2 separate regions of the Homo sapiens genome follow, and region 2 is linked to region 1. The links are contacts of gene promoters, found by promoter capture Hi-C in blood cells and fetal thymus (Javierre and others, 2016). All regions are on one chromosome and are shown on one strand. The core of a region is centred on a gene start or on the middle of the fragment in contact, and the rest is flanking DNA. Distances in the headings are between cores, read along the strand shown.

Region 1 (4,393 bases), core at 854-3,353:
TCAGACTGTGGCACAGGACGTGGCATGCTTCATGAGATTAAAAATATTTGTAGAATTAATGAATCAAACAATGGGCAGGATTTGTAGAGATCTTCTAAACTGGCTGAATAAAATAAACTATAAAAGTGATTTAAGAGCCTGGGCGCGGTGGCTCACCCCTGTAATCCCAGCACTTTGAGAGGCCGAGGCGGGTGGAGCTTGAGGTCAGGAGTTCAAGACCTGCCTGACCAACAGGGTGAAACTCTATCTCTACTAAAAAAAAAAAAAATACAAAAATTAGCTGGGCCTGGTGGTGCATGCCTGTATTCCCAGCTACTCAGGAGGCTGAAGCAGGAGAATCGCTTGAACCTGGGAGGTGGAGGTTGCAGTGAGCCAAAATCGTGCCATTGCACTCCAGCCTGGGCGACAGAGTGAGACTCTGTCTCAAGAAAATAAAAAGTGATTTAAACATTTTAGTGACATCCTCTGACTCTCAGGACTCACAGTAGCACAGAATACTGAGGATCTTCTCCTTCCTCCCTCCCTCCCTTCCCTCCTTTCCTCCCTCCCTCCCTCCCTCCCTTCCTTCCCACAATTTCATTAAACAAAAAACACTAAAACATCTAAGGTCTTGTAGATGAATATTTGGCACTTCAAAGGCCTTACTTCTTTCTTATCTTTAGGAGATAATGTAGGTCAACAAACATTTTAAATGTCTTCTTTTTTTTATTTATTCTTTCTACTGCTATTTAATAAGCACCAATGGCACCCACCAGGTTTTAGGTCCACAAGGCCAGTCTACTAAGAGTACTTAAAAGATGCAGAGCTTTCTGTACATAAGGTTATGTAAACAAAGGGAAATCTTATTGTAGAATGTGAAAGTAATGTGTGTGTAATCACCATCCACTGGAATTCAATCAGATTTTCCTAACAAGATGTTAGAAAGTGTCTAGGACAAAACTGACCTCAAAATGGTTTGATGGAGGCAGTTTATCTTCTGACCAGTTGCTAGTGAGGAACCCTCAAAAAGCTGTTGTTTTGTGGCCTACAGAATTCAATGCAGTTCTGACAATGATCTTCAGGTTTAAAGGTCTGAATCTACCATTCACTTAACCCTGAATTTAATCCACTGCATGTTCTGTGCAATTTTCTTTACCTAATAAAGGAACTTCCTTTTACTTGTACTCCATAGAATACCACATTTCCTTCTCATGACCTTTCTAACAGCTTCTTTGAAGTCTTTGTTCCTCAAGCTGTAGATAACTGGGTTCAGCAGTGGTGTGACCACAGTGTAGAAGACAGAAATGATCTTGTTGATTTCAGGCAACAGGTGGGGACTGGGACACACATACATGGAGATCATGGTCCCGTAGTAGAGAGTGACAACAGCCAGGTGGGAGCCACATGTGGAAAAGGTCTTTCTCCGGCCAGAGGTGGAAGGGATTCTCAATATGGAGGACACAATGAAAACATAGGGCCCCAGTGTCAGAAAAAAACAAATGCACAGCACGGCAATTGACAGGATGAAGATGGTCACCTCGGTGATATAAACTCTGGAACAGGAGAGCTGCATGAGTGGCGGGAGGTCGCAGAAGAAATGGTTAATCTGATTGCGCCCACAGAAGTCCAACCTGGAAATCATCAGGGAAGGCAGAAAGCCTGTGCTGACCCCTGTGCACCAGGAGACCACCACCAACCTGGCACAGAGCCCACGATGCATGAGGAAGGGGTAGCGGAGTGGGCTGCAGATGGCCAGGTAACGGTCATAGGCCATGAAGGCCAGGAGAAAGCACTCGGTGGCGCCGAGGAATACGAAGAAGTAGAGCTGTGCCATGCAGGCAGAGAAGGAGATGGCTTGGCCCCAGGACAGCAGGTTGGCTAGGAGAAGGGGCACAGTGGTGGACGTGTACCAGACCTCCAGAAAGGAGAGATGCTGGAGGAACATGTACATAGGGGAGTGCAGTCGCAGGCCCTGGCTCACCACGGTGATGATGACAACATTCCCTATAATGGTCAGGCAGTAGATGAGCAGGAAAATGACAAAGAGCAGGGCCTGCCATTCAAGAAGGTTCTGGAATCCTAACAGCTGAAAGTTAGTCACAGTGGAGGTATTTTGGGGCTCCATTGCCTGTGGGGGATGAAAAACATTCTGGAAAAGCACAGGATGCAAGGCGCAAATTTATCACTGGTGATGCTTGGAACTTCAGAGATTAATTTTTAAATAGTTTAGATCTGTATGCACAGCTTTTTAGAAGGATAAATGCATAATTCCATATCTCTTTCGTAAGAATACATTTTGAAATCTTAAGCTGAATGTGAATATTAGATCTTGTAAGGAGACTCAGCAAGTTTCATTCATCTGGGTTCTCTGAAATCTTGAAGTCTCCTTCCAAAGACAGGCAAAAAAGGACTCTTATTAGTAGATCTTCAGTGTTCTCACCATACAAAAAAGAAAAATTGAGGTGATGAATATGTTAATTGGATTGATTGTGATGATTATTTCACAATGAATACATCTACGAGAACAAAGTTGTACACTGTAAATATATAGTATACAATAATTATCAACTACACCTCAATAAAGCTGGACAAAAACTCAGAAAACTAACAATAACAACAAAGCTTTAAAAAAAATCCTGCACGGCCGGGCGCAGTGGCTCACGCCTGTAATACCAGCACTTTGGAAGGCCGAGGCGGGCGTATCACGAGGTCAAGAGTTCGAGACCAGCCTGAGCAACACAGTGAAACCCCGTCTCTACTAAAAATACAAAAATTAGCTGGGTGTAGTGGTGCCTGCCTGTAATCCCAGCTACGTGGGAGGCTGGGGCTGGAGAATCGCTTGAATCCGGGAGGCGGAGATTGCAGTGAGCCAAGATCGCACCACTGCATTCCAGCCTGGGTGACAGGGCGAGACTCCGTCTCAAAAAAAAAAAAAAAATCATGCACATGTGGAAGCAAATGCCTTTCCCTTCTCATCTGTGGGCTTTGTCTGAAAAAGAAGCCAGACACAGCACATCTCCTATGCCATCTTGGGAAAGTGTATATATTCCACCCTCAAACAATATTTATTAGTCCCTGCTGTGTGTGTGTGTTTGTGTGTGTGTGTTTGTGTGTGTGTGTGTGTGTGTGAAGGCCTGTGCTGAACTAATCTGCCTCACTCCACTGGTGTCCTTTCTTGCCTCATCCGATACCATACTCATGCTCAGCCACTATAATTACACCCTCGTGTACACCTTTTATTCTTTCATTTAATTCATTGTCTATAGTTCTGGATAAAGTAAACATCCACCTGCCATACAGGAGCTTCTGTGAAGTTGAGGGAGTGAGACAAGCAAGAATAGAACCTCTTTAAAATGTACAACCAACAAACTCAGTGTGCCCTTACTGCTGGAGAGCAATCATTCTGTATTTCCCTTATAAACCAAAAATAAAATTCTAAACCCCACAACTGACTGAGCGGACTCCTCCTTTCAGCCAAGGGGATTTCAAAGAAACCTAAAAATTCTGGTTCAGATCATGATGGGAAGAGGGGGTTGGACAAACCTCATTACACTCTCCTTTCTTCAGAATTCAGGCATAACTGAGCAGCAATAACATCAAAAAAGAGATTTTAAGGCTGACGAAACAGACTCTGTAGAAATAAGCTACCAAATTCTAACCTGACTCTAGTATAGCATCATGACAGACAGCCGACCCTGAAGGAAATGGAAATATTTTACCACAAAATATATTTATTTGTCATATTTAAAATGGCCCTGCAAAGCTGTCTCTTGTGGGGGAAATCTACATTCTGCGGAGAATCCCTTTCCCTCTCCAGGCCTTTGTCTGATCCTCAAGAGATTAGCTGAAAGTCTAGCACCTTTTAAAGGTCTCAATAGAACATTTTTCCCATCTGCTGCTTCTCAGGCTGGCAACATATGAGACTTCATCTACATCATAAGAACCTTGGTTTCCCCAACCCCCCTATCTTAACCCAGATTCTCCTTTCTATTGATTCCAGGTCTTCAGACAATAACTTAATTCTTTCAACCAGTTGCCAATCAAAAAGTCTTTGCATCCACGTATGACTGTAACCTTCCCCCATTCTTGGAGCTGTCCTGCCTTTCCAGACCAAACCAACGCATAGCTCACACGTACTGATTGATGTCTTATGTCTCCCTAAAATGGATAAAGTCAAGCTGTAACACAACCACCTTAAGCACATATTCTCAGGACCTCCTGGGACTGTCACAGATCATGGTCTTTAAATTTGGCTCAGAATAAACCTCTTCAAATATTTGTTACAGACTTTGGTTTTTATCAATACCCGTATCTATTCACTCTTCCAATCTCCTAAGTGACTATTTCACTTATGTTGCTCTCTTTTCGAACGTCTAGCACATCCCTGTTGCTCTGTACCCTCAGTAAGAGACTT
Region 2 (4,011 bases), core at 198-2,697, 81 kb before region 1:
ATACCTATCAACATTTTTCATAGAGTGTCTTACTTCTTGACGTCCCTCACTGTACTCTCCAACTTCTCACTTCTGTATCAATCCAATTTATACCTTCTTTTTAATTATAAAAATTATCAAATTATACAAAGTGTTGTATAACAATAAGCAAGCAAACATACATCATTCATGTAATCCGTACTTTCCTTCAGCAAACATTTATTGAGCAATTTCTATGATCCAGGTGCTGTGCACAATTTAGGACCAAAGTTTTTTTCTGACTGAAGCAAAATTTGTGATACCTTCCCAAACGTTCTCCTTGACATCTGAGGCCTTTCTAGTCTTTTCAAACCTATATTATTTCAGTTATGTTATTTAAGCCATATGGCTATCAAGTAAAGGACATGTTGTAGAAGTGGGAAGAGATTTGGAATTTTTAGTCCAAGTATCATTATTTTCTCACAATATTCCAAGAGTTATCTAGGACTTCTATTTTATTGATTTGTATGACAAGGATCCTAATGAAAATAACATAATGTAGCACTAGATAATATACATGTTCTGGTTTTATGCTAAGACAGCTGATTAACCCTAGAGAACACAATGCAGTGTATTTGTTTCTATTACAATGTTTTGAATTCCAACTTAATCAGAAACCTCACTAACACTAATTATTACATTCATCTTCCTCTGATTCCTGTCAACTTTAATTAAGTTCCATGCACCCCCTTTTACCCAACTTGAAGCATGTCAGGATAAAATCTGTACGGAAAAGAAACTATGCATGTATTTGCATGCCTTTGAGGGAGAAGCACTCTTTCAAAGACAGTCTCCTTCCCCTGTAGGCACTATCAGTTACATCATTTTTATTAATCTCATACTCACTATACAATATTCCTTTCATGACAAGCATAACAATTCCCCTTTTTCTTGGTCTACTTCATTGTAGTTAGTGAAATTTTAAGGAAAGAATTGCGATTTATTATATTGAATCCTTAGGATATAACACATATATGCACGTAGTTTGCACAGAGTTGGTGCAAAAGAGTGCTTATGGAAACAACAAATGAATGAAAAATTCTGGAGAAATCATTTGATTATATAATGAATATATGAGTTTTGCAAGATATCTTTTAATTCTATATTCTCATTTGCAGCACATCATCTTAATTTCAAAATTTTCTCAACTAGGATTTGGAAAAAGTTAGTCCACCATTGAAATGCTTAACAGCTTCGTCAAAAAACTTCCATGCATTACAACTCAAAGGATTATACATTAGGTATGTCTTCACTAAAACAAAGAAAAAAATGTATGAATACATACCCTTTTCTGAGACCTTTGCCACCTATGACTTTTCTCTTTCCTGAATATCCAATCACAAAAGCATAGATGGACCTATGCATTGATTCAGATTTCTAGTCAAGAGTGAAAAAGAGAAGAATGAGATATAGACAAGTGTGTTTCTTTCGACAGAGAATAACAGTATCTCACGGGGTGAGTATTTGGTTAGATTCATTTATTTTGATAATACAAAGGGGGGCAGGCCTTTAACATGGCACAGTTTTGTCCCTTGAGATCAGCACCCAAGAGGCTTCATGAAGTTCTAAATTTAGCTTCTAATGACTTTAGTTTATAAATTGGTTTTTCTCTTATTTTGAAGAGAAGGCAAACACAGGGGGAAATATTGTATGCGGGAAGAAAGCATGAAAGCTCATGAAGGTTCCAAGATACATTCTTGTTTTCTTTACAGGGTGCTTGGGTGAATGAATGATACAAAAAGATGGGAAACTGAAGCCACAATTTTACAAACCTATCTATTCCATCTCCATAAAACTTGCAGCTTATCCTGTCTCCCTAGTGCTAAAGAGAGATACAGTGATATAAACAACCACTTTTGGAGTAAGACACATTTTGGTTCAAATCTTCATTTGTAAATTAATTAATAGTTGCTTGACCTTGCACAAGGTATTATATTTTGTATGTTTTAGTTTTTCATCTATAAAAATACAAATACTACTTATCTCATTTAGTTGCTATAAAAACTATAATATTTATATAAAAACCTTGAATTGTGCATAGACCCAGAGGTTATCCTGAAGCTTCTGATCATCTAATGAATTAATGGCTGGGATAATCAAATATGTGCCAATAAAAATGAAAACCAAAAGAGAGTGTGTTTGGAAATGAGATTTTTCACTGTACATTAGATAAAGATTATGTGTGCGGGTGGTTGCAGATATATACATAGATAAATAGTTTTAACTCATACCATGAGCTACACCGTTACTCCACAGTATATAACTTAGTCTGAAGACTACAGCTAAACCAACCAGTATTCAAAACATTTGAAACACAGGCCCATTTATCTGAATCCAAAGATGCATTTATTCTTCTTTATTGAAATCAATATTTTATTAAACACATAGTTTTTGGTTTAATGTATTTAGGTAAATATAAGAACAGACTACAATGACAAACATTCAAATAACCTTAATGTATACTATACGTGTGTATATATATATGTATACTATACATGTGTGTGTATATATATGTATACAGACACACACACATATATATAGTGAAAGGTATACGTTGTATATTATATACATAAACAATTTGTGTATGTCTGTATAAGTGTACATATATATTTACAAACACATTTATACATTTTTTTCTAATATGGGGAAGACCTCTATATTATCAATTGAAAGGAGATTTATTTACATTTATGTTTAGTGATAATGTATGTCTCAGAGTTCATACAATGTGGATAACTTAATAGCTTTTGTAAATTCTTTTAGAACATAAGTATTAAGCATTAGACTCTTGCAGAAGATCCATGAGCTACTGAAAACACTTTGGAATTAGAAACCTGGAAAGGAGCAAAACAGGGATGCTCTGTTAATAATTACCATGTGTGGTGCACTATGAAGTGGCTTTTCATGCATCCTCTCAGGTAATACCTAAAACAGCTTTGAGACAGTTAATTTTCCTTTTAGAGAGAAAGAAACAACACTTAGAGAAGTTATGAAGCTCCTGGGTGTGGTGGCTCACGCCTGTAATCCCAGCACTTTGGGAGGCCGAGGTGGGCAAATTACAAGGTCAGGAGATCGAGACCGTCCCGGCCGACACGGTGAAACATAGACCTACGTTTGCGTGCTCTATTTGTGCATGTTAAACCTTATAAAAATACCCAGGTAATAGTTGCTTACATTCAAGAAGACAAAATATATTTGTGTCACTGCCAAACAAAATTTGATTTACTTTAACTCGTGCCTATGAAGAGATGGGGTGAATGGTAAGCTTCATGTTAATAATTTGACATCCAAGCAAAACTCCACTTTTGACTAATTTCTATCTAATAGATGTGTGTGTGTGTGTGTGTGTGTGTGTGTAATGGCAAAGGTCAGAGGGGGACCGAAGGAGACAATGTGTGGTGGGTCTGGTGATAGAATCACAATTAATAACTGTTTATGGATGGGGAATGCCTGGGGTAGCCATGAGCTGTCCACAGGCACTGCAGTAAGGATGTTGGAATAGCACACCTATACTATATTAAATTTATACCATAATAATAGACAAATTCAGTAAAGTTATAGAATACAAAATCAACAAACAAATATCAGTAGTATTTTTATACATAAATAATGACCTGTCCGGGAGCAGTGGCTCACACCTGTAATCCCAGCACTTTGGGAGGCCGAGGTGGGCGGATCACGAGGTCAGGAGTTCAAGACCAGCCTGACCAATATGGTGAAACCCCGTCTCTGCTAAAAATACAAAAATTAGTCAGTCATGGTAGCACACACCTGTAATCCCAGCTACTCACGAGGCTGAGGCAGGAGAATCACTTGAACTCGGGAGGCGGAGGTTGCAGCAAGCTGAGATCGCACCACTGCACTCCAGCCTGGGTGACAGAGCAAGACTCCATCTCAGAATAAATAAATAAATAAATAAATAAATAAATAAATAAATAAAACCTAGCTGTCAACAAAATTAAGAAAACAATCCCATTTATGATAACATTAAAA

Evidence for each region. The method cuts DNA at HindIII sites, captures the fragments that hold promoters and counts their contacts. A CHiCAGO score of 5 or more calls a contact.
Region 2: the fragment with the promoter of OR1C1 here is called in contact with the fragment with the promoter of OR11L1 in region 1 in 1 of 17 cell types (megakaryocytes); the score reaches 5.2 in megakaryocytes.

What each region holds. Positions count from the first base shown.
Region 1 is chr1:247,839,793-247,844,185 of GRCh38, forward strand. OR11L1 (olfactory receptor family 11 subfamily L member 1) reads right to left here and starts at 2,104. Exons shown (of 1, transcript NM_001001959.1): 1 at 1,136-2,104. The coding sequence starts at 2,104. The coding sequence ends at 1,136. The HindIII fragment of the contact is 3,435 bases long and covers 1-2,599 here.
Region 2 is chr1:247,759,109-247,763,119 of GRCh38, forward strand. It overlaps OR1C1 (olfactory receptor family 1 subfamily C member 1), which reads right to left and starts at 1,448. Exons shown (of 2, transcript NM_012353.3): 1 at 1,304-1,448. The HindIII fragment of the contact is 5,228 bases long and covers 1-2,077 here.